2 separate regions of the Homo sapiens genome follow, and region 2 is linked to region 1. The links are contacts of gene promoters, found by promoter capture Hi-C in blood cells and fetal thymus (Javierre and others, 2016). All regions are on one chromosome and are shown on one strand. Each heading gives the region's core, a stretch centred on a gene start or on the middle of the fragment in contact. The rest is flanking DNA. Distances are from core to core; before and after follow the strand shown.

Region 1 (4,164 bases), core at 216-2,715:
CTATTGTGAATAGTGCCGCAAAGTTTGATCTTTTGGCCAGTAGCATGGGCATTACCTGGGAGCTTGTTAGAAATGCCTATCCTGGGCCAGGCATGGCTCACGCCTGTAATTCCAGCACTTTGGGAGGCCGAGGCGGGCGGATCACCTGAGGTCAGGTGTTCCAGACCAGCCTGGCCAACGTGGAGAAACCCTGTCTCTACTAAAAATACAAAAATTAGCCGGGCGTGGTGGTGGGCGCCTGTAATCCCAGCTACTTGGGAGGCTGAGGCAGGAGAATCGCTTGACCCCGGGAAGCGGAGCTTGCAGTGAGCCGAGAGCGCGCCACTGCACTCCAGCCTAGGAGACGAAGCAAAAAACAAAAAACAACAACAACAAAAAACTAAAAAAGCGTTTCCTCAGTCCCTACCCCAGACCTATTGGATCACAATCAGCATTTTAACAAGACCCCCTAGGTGAGTCCTGTGTACTAGATGAGAGGATATATTTTGGATTGGTTTGAATCCCAGCTGAGCAGGTTACTACTGTGTGACCTCAAGCAAAGTGTTTAGATCATATAAGCCTGTTTCCTCGTCCACATGGTAAGGCACCTCAATGGGTTGTAGTAAGAATTAAAGAGGCTGAGGCTGTATGTAAGGCATTTTTCACAGAGCCTTCCAACAAATACCCAGTTAATAATGAAGCTCTTTTCATCGTATCATTTTGCACCATCTACAGCTGCTAACCATACTACACATCCATTCAGGATTCTGGAGCTGCTCAACAGGGAAGATTTCCAAAGCCCTCAAAGCCCTCCAAGCCCATGGGGTAGCGGGAAGGGGATGGGGACAGGAACACTGTCAGCAGTGCCTCTCCGAATACGCAGGATACTGTACATTTTGCAAAACATATTACTTATCGGATGATCTTGCTTTCAGATCTCCACTGCACGTGGCTTTATTGGAAACCTTCTGCTAGAGTCTAGACTCAGCCATGGAGTCTGGTGACCTGTGGGAGGGAGCAAGGGCCAGAATGCCTGCTAAATCGCTCTGGGTCCCCAGCCCTCTTCCTTAATCCCTTCTTAACTTTCCATCTGTCTCTGGTCTCCAGGGGTGCAGAACCACAACCCACCAGACCCCTCCTAGCTCCCGGCCCGGCGCTCAGCAGCCTGGGCTGCAACACTTTCCCCCAGGACCGGGAAGGCGGGGGAGGGGGTTTGGAGGGGGCGGAGCTCGGCCTCCTGCTGCCGCCGCTGCTGCTGCCGCCGCCGCCGCCTGCAAAGCTGTCGCCCCTCTCTCGGATGCTCAGGCTGGGCAGCGCTGGACAGATGGGTACACCCCGGGCCTGACGGATGAACAGTCGGGCAAGTGAACTCTCACCTCCAAACTGGCTCTGCGCCCGGCGGGGGCGGCGGCGGCGTCTGCAGCCCCGCGGTGGGGGCAGCCCCCTCGGTCTACGCCCGACTGCTGCGCGCCGCCTCTGCTCTTGGCATAGTAATTTCAGTTCCTGAACGCACGGAGCTCGCTCCGGGACCGGGCTGAGAAGGACCTCAGCTCGCGGGCCCGCCGGAGCCATCGGTGTGGCGCCGAGAGACGGTGCTTGGGATATGCGACGGGAAGCCCCCGCCACAGCGCAGGCAGTGGCCCCGCCGCGCCGCGGAGCCGGGCAGAGCAGGTAGGAGACGCCCCCTGCGCACCTCCGCCTGGCGGCCAGCGCGGGGGACCGGAGCCTGGTGGTGTGCTCTGTAGGGATGCGGAAGGGATTCGGTCCCACATTTTGCACAGGGATCCTTTGCCTGTTGCTCTTGTCTCTGTCCCATCCTGCGCTCTAGGAGGGGCAGTCTTTCTCGCAGGTGATGAATTTCTCTGCAAGGTCATTGCTCTCTTTGGCTCTGGCTTTGAAGGTAAATGGGAGAAGACGCCTGCTGATCGTGGGCAGGGAAATTTATAATCAATCGGGTCTGCACACTGCGAATATCCGAATATGAGGGGTGTGTGTGTGTGTGTGTGTGTGTGTGTGACATTTGTCTCATTTTCCTATGCTTATCCCCTTTAAGGTCAAAACATAGAAATATATATTACATATGGATGTATGTATGTGTGTGTATATACACACACATACATAAATGCATATGTAAATAGGTTTTCTTGAGGTAGGCAGAAAGAAGAGGAAGGGCGGGCAGGGGTTGATAAAGGGAAATCGTTGTAGAGACATGTTCACTAATAGAGGCGAACTTTGGAACCACATTAAATCAGGGTAGAGACTAGAGGTGATAAACGGTTCTTTCAAGATGGGCTTTAGAAGAGGTCTGAAGGAGCCTGTCAGCCAACACACACAGAAGATCTTCATGCTCTCCAGGCAGATGGAAACGATGTAGGCATCATTTCAGACGCAATAATGGACAGTGAAAGAGGGAAAAAAGGAGAGGTACTTAATATGCCACTGGGAAGTGAATTTTGGGTGATGGGAAGGCATCGAATCCAGACCAGGTTTCAAGGGCTTTCTGGAGGGCCATTGGGAGAAATCACCGCTTGGGGTGTAGGCAGTTCAAGGTTAAGACGATGTGAATGTCCACAAAGCAGCCGAGGAGGTGGGCAAAAGGCAAGGGCTTGGAGGGGGAGGGGAGAAACAGAGCTCTGAGCAGTCACTCAAGAAGCACCCACCTTTGAGTAAGGTGTCTTCTTCCTCTTGGTTAAAGCGGTACTTGGGTATGCTCCATCTAAATATTTTCACAACACATTTGTTTAAAGATCCATTGGACTATGTTTTTATTTTGTTTTTGCAAGGTATCTGGGTCATGGTGGGACTAGAAGAAACTGAAGTGTTTACAACACCAGCAAGATTTGGGAGAGAGGGTTGATTAAGGCTTTGCTTCATGAAATATTTACACATCTCCTGCGTGGGCTTTTGTTTGCTCTTGTTGGTGCTGCTGCATATTTTACTTTGATAATGCTTTGAGTGTACTTCGCCCGAATGTGCTTATTTTCCAGTTATAACCTATTCTTTCTTTTCCCATTGTGCTCACCATTGGCCTGCCCTGAGTAACAATTGTGGGAATAAAGGTACATGAGTCACAGCCCAAAGCAGAAAATCTCTGCTGCTATCTGCAAAAGACAGGAGTTTGCGTTAGAGAATGTTCTTTTTCGAGTTTTTGTGTGTGTTTAGTTTTTCAAGTTTTGTGTGTCTTTAATCGAGGGAATAGGTTATTGATTCAAAAGAGAAAAAAAAAACAGCAATTGCAATTGCAGGCCTAGATGTTATATGATTGAAATTTATTTTGGAAACAGCAGAGGAACTCATGGAGAGCCATGTACAGTGTGTTGTGGTGTGGTGAGCCTTCACCTAATCACTAACTAGACTTCTACGAAAATGATTAGGACAAAATCACAAGTGCATCAGCTTCACATGGGAAGTAGAGGACTGAGGCGTTGTATGAGTCAGATCAGTGTCAATTGGAGGGCAGGCTGGATTCCAGCAAGCTGTTTTGAAATTTGAGTGTTTTAATTGCCTCAAAAAAATTGCCCAATATGCTTAATTATTTGTTCCTGCAACATTTTCTTAATTATGCCTCAACATACTTAAAAGACTATATTTAGATCCAGCTATCCTTCACTGTTTGAATTTCCAGTTGCAAAATCTGCAGCTTGCAGGAAACACGGAAATATTGGTCTTGGAATCACAAAATTATAAAATGTTGGGCTCAGAGAAGGAGGACACATGATTCTAGCCACAGCTCTTATTTGAGCTCTTTCATTGGCAGCTGCTCCTGCCCTTTATGCACTCATTCATTCACTTTTTCATGAATATATGTTGATATATTCAACATATATTTAATCCTGGACTGGACATGGTCCTAGATTGTGGAATAGAAGAATAAACAAGACATAGTCTCAGCCTGCAAAACTTGGGAGGGACACTGCCAGCAACCGCTGGTGGAGTGCCCTGACAGGGTGCTGTGGAGGCCAGGGTAGAGGTGGAGAGAATAAGGAGAGTTTCCCATGGACCTGAAAGATGAGAGGACCTAGCCCAGTGAAGAAGAGAGGGAAGGACATTCCTGGCACGGGGACCAAAATAAGCAGAGACCAAGGAAAATACATAGCTCCAGGTGGTTGAAAAACAGTGTGAGTACATAAAGATGGTAAGACGAGAATGGAGAGGGCAGCAGGATCCACCTACAAACTGAAGTCC
Region 2 (4,447 bases), core at 1,574-4,073, 490 kb after region 1:
AGTATAATGAGCGAGTTTATAATAAAAACTGAATCCGCTTCTTAGCAGTGTTCCTGCTAAGGCTATTTTAAAGGATGTTGATAGGCTGAAGACCTTTTAAAATGCATCACAAGATTCTTCTCTTCTGGAGTTCAGATCTAGGCAAGGATTTTCCATGAATAAGTACATCATAATATGTGAGAATAAATGTTAAGGATAACATTTCCCCTTCAATAATTCCAGACAGATTTATTACACAAATAGCATTTTTTAAAACTGCTTAGTAAGAATGATTGAGTGCAAGACTGTTTTTGTTCCTTCGTGATTATAATATAGATTGTGGGTCTGGGGGGAGGCGAAGGAGTTATACCAAAGCAGAGAAAGGTAAATTTAAACAAAGGGTCTTATGAAAAAGAACACTGTTGTGAACTAAGAAGTGAAGAATGTAGGCATGGAGAGGGCCTCAGGGCTGCCCAAGGTCACATTTTAGGATTTTAAACATTACCTTTGCTAATCATATTGTCCTATTTCAACTTCAACTGCTTTACATGCAGTGGCATTTCATTCCATAGAAATGTTTCATTTAGGAAAACTATAGAAGGTTTTATTAGTAAAAAAAAAATTTTAAATCAAATAGTAAATGTGGTTTATTTAAGGATAAAAAAAACTAGACAAAAACTAATTTCATTTTTAAAAACCATGCCACAAATATTTCAGTGAATGTTTTTGTTTTAGCAATGAAAAATAAGCTTTAAAACATTGCTTATTTGCAAAATGGTTTCTACAGATACTTACAGTGAGATAAAACAGTATAGTCATTTTTCCTTCACTGTACTAACAAGGACACTGTCATGGGAACCTGATGGGGGTGTCCAAAGAGTTCCTTTTGTAAAAATTAAGAATCCAAGGGAGCAGAAAGTGGTTTACAAATATATCTAAAATTTTTCTACGTGAACTCAGTGAAAATGTCCACATGCTTAAAGCTTGTGAGAGACTAAAACACTTTGTGGAGTCTTGATTTGGTTTCCAACTTTAAAGTTGGAGACATTTTTCCCCTTATAATGACATCAGTTCTTAAGGGTTTTAAGCGAATTGTATTCTAGATAAGAATATTGGCTACTACTGAACTCTAATAGCCAGCCATGTGATGCTCTAATAATTGTTAAGAAGAAAATAGATCTTTATACTGTTAAAACATTGTTTAGGCAATCAAAACGATTAAAGCTAAAATAAAACCATCATTATTTCCTGTAAATTATTTTGTATTTTTAGTCATGATTAATGAACCTAGTAGGAATAAATGCAGGAATAATTTGAATTTGCATTCAAGAATGTTGAGTTGCTACTTTTGTTTCTTTGCATTACCATTCTGAAGAGCGCTGTTACGTGCATTCACTGCCGCAATGTTTACCCAGCTCTTAGAGTTTAATTTGACTGATTTCCCTGCAATCTTTACTGCCAGCCTGTACCTACCTTTGGTTATAAACCTCCTGAAGGTAAAGACCAGGTTTGTGCGGTTGTCTTTGTTAAGCGTGCCTTGTGAATTTAAGCATTTGTGTAGAAAACTTTCCCGCCCTTACGTGTAATTGTTTCTTCAAATCCCAGTTTGGTATCTTTGGCTATTGATTTCTGTGACTCTCGTGGTAATGATGACTATTGCGGACTCTCCCCACCGTTATGGGCCTGAAGCAGGAAGGTTCCAGAGCCTTAGCAGTATTCTTGGAAGGAGTGCTTTGTTCCATTCTGTTTAAGAGCACCAAGGGATAGAAACTACATTGAAATTGGATGTGTAAAAGAATAGCTTTAAATAGCAGCTAAAGAAATTCATGCTCACTGTTTGTATTTAGCAGAGAGTTCAATGCTTCTCATACTTTGAGTGCATGAGAATTACCTAAGGAACTTATTTTTCAAATCAAATCCTTCCTGTTGCCCTCCTTCCCTAGACTCACTGCATCCAAATCTGGAGGTAGCAGAGAGAGCATCTGCATTTTAACAAGCTTCCTAAATCTAATGCAGATGGTCCACTCGTAGAGAAACACTGATCTAAATTCTAGTTAATGATTATAGCGCTTATAAAGCTAGTGACAGCTGGCATATATAGGAATCTAGCATTATACTACTCAACATCTCCAAATAGCATATTTAATATCTGACCTTATGTGAGGATTTTTTCATAATTGATGCTTTCATTTCCTAAATTGTCAGTTTTACCTATTAAAACAAAACATACTTAGAGTGTTGTTTAATATTTTCTCTTTGACTGAACACTACTCTGTACTGCCAGTTATCCTAAGGTAATTAAGACACAGCTCTCCTTCAAAGAGGTCACATGCTAGTTAGGATGCAGACACATTACCAGACAATTACAGTACCATGTGGTGAATTCAGTAATACACAGTATGATTAGCATAGTAATAATAGAGATGTGCCTAGATGGATAATATTATCCTGTGTATTATTTAACCCCGTGTAAGTGTGTGATTTTATTAGGGGCATGTTTGTACCCTAATGTCTACTTAACTTACAGTTTTCATAAATGCCTCTTTAGCCTTTCTTAGCGTATTGTGAGAGTGTATAGAAGATACGTTGTTACTGCTAATCTGTAGCCAAGATGAGAATGACAGATAAGGTCAAAAACTAAAAATGAAATAAAATGTGTCTTGCTATCTGTTTATTACTGAATGTTATTGGCAGAGTTTCCAGGATGGAGTTGGCTGTTTAGAAACTCATGATCTTTAGAAAAAACATGGCAGAGGCTGAATGTTTAAATTACAACCTTCTGTAAAGTCCTCAGTTCTTAATGATTCACTACATGGCTTAAAGACAGGATCTTATTAACTATCTCTATTGAGATAATTAAACAGTCCCAGTTATTTTTTAAAATACTAAAATATTTACATACTACTTATAGCTAATAATGAAACTCAACATAGTGTATCAACTTATATGGATATTCTTAGCATCGGAAAAAGTTCCTTGAGAAAAATAAAATAATATCAGAAATAAAGGGAGGGAGAAACTATATTAAACTAAGAATTGAAATATAAGTTTTCTCAGGTGACTAAATTTACCTTCTGTCACTAATGAGATAATCTGTTTTGTCAGATCTCAGGCCTAGTTTGTACCACAGGCTCTTTGTACAATTCATATTTCATTGAGTTTTCTTCCCCTTAGGTATTGTGGGGATGTAGGTAAGGATCTCTATTTTATGTATAGAAAGACTCAAGCAGGCTAAGATACAAAATTTTAACTCTGAGTCATAGCTATGACAAAACTCTCAACTTTCATTGCAGTATTTTAATTTGCTAGACTAACTTTCCAGTAAACTAACTGAATTTATATCCACAAGGAATAATGATGGCAGATGAGATGAAGTTATGAACCTGTGAGTGCTGATGATTGATGTGGATTCCTTTGATTTCAGTGCATTGACATCTGCTTTCATGTGTTGGCATCCTGTTCTTTCCTGGGTTTGTCTACCAAAGTGAGAAGCTGAAATCAATCATGTCTATGTAATTATTTTTTTCATGTAGCAAATAATGATATCCAGTGTATATTATTGAATATTTGTTTTATGATGGTGAAGCACATCATAATTCCAAATTGCAGTGGCTCTTCTTCAAAAAAGACTTAAAGACGATTAATAAACATGTATTAGTGACCCAATATCTAAAAGTTTCACTGAAGCTTCTTATCAGTAGAATTCATCAGTTCTTCCTAAGCATCGCTCTTTAGAATATCCTTTTGCCAACGTAAACGTTGATAACATGGGGATGGTATGGGAGTTCACCAGGGAAGAACCCAGGTAATGTTGGGCCAGCTTGTGAGTTTCTGTGTGGTGTTAGAGAGCCCTCTGCTGCTCGTGGAGATGACACCTTTCAGTTAATTTATCTAGAAGTCTCTGTTTTTCCTAACTTGTTGGCACTCTGGTAGCACTCCTGGCACTGCCCTCTCCCTCCACAAACACAGTCTGGGAGGGAGTTAAAAGCTGCCTCACTTTAAATCTGGGCCAGTGCCTATGGGTTGTGTGTCTGAATTTATGCTTTATCACTGTCAGTGAGAACAAATAAGATCTCTGTGGGCTCTGTTCTCACATGATGGTTTAATTACCCATGGAGCCCAAATATTTGCTAATTACTCCAAATAAAGAAGATAACATGAACTAAGGTGAGGATATTTTCAAATTTTAGGATCATCCTGTCTAAACCACTGAAAAAGTAAAGATGTTAACTATTCAGTACAAACCAGTGGTAAACTTGCCATCAGAAAACATATATAGACACTGACAGCTAGCTGGCCATATATGAATTTGAGCAGGTCATTTTCATTGTCTGTAAGAGATGATACCACCCAAGGTACTTATTTTATGAGGGAGATTTTGGAGTTAAAGAATGTGATAGGACTAGGCACAGTGGTTCATGTCTGTAATCCCAGCACTCTGGAAGGCCAAGTCCGGGGGGGATCACTG

What was found. The method cuts DNA at HindIII sites, captures the fragments that hold promoters and counts their contacts. A CHiCAGO score of 5 or more calls a contact.
Region 2: a contact is called between a fragment that was not itself captured here and the fragment with the promoter of GPRIN3 in region 1, in 1 of 17 cell types (total CD4 T cells). The highest score is 6.0, in total CD4 T cells.

Annotation. Positions count from the first base shown.
Region 1 is chr4:89,305,101-89,309,264 of GRCh38, reverse strand. It overlaps GPRIN3 (GPRIN family member 3), which reads left to right and starts at 1,465. Exons shown (of 2, transcript NM_198281.3): 1 at 1,465-1,650. RefSeq lists silencers at 1,386-1,455, 1,466-1,515. The HindIII fragment of the contact is 16,857 bases long and covers 1-4,164 here.
Region 2 is chr4:88,818,235-88,822,681 of GRCh38, reverse strand. The region is part of intron 7 of FAM13A (family with sequence similarity 13 member A); the gene reads left to right. Among named protein-coding and RNA genes, the nearest start is that of FAM13A-AS1, 110 kb to the right of the region's middle. RefSeq lists an enhancer at 1-66. The HindIII fragment of the contact is 1,690 bases long and covers 1,979-3,668 here.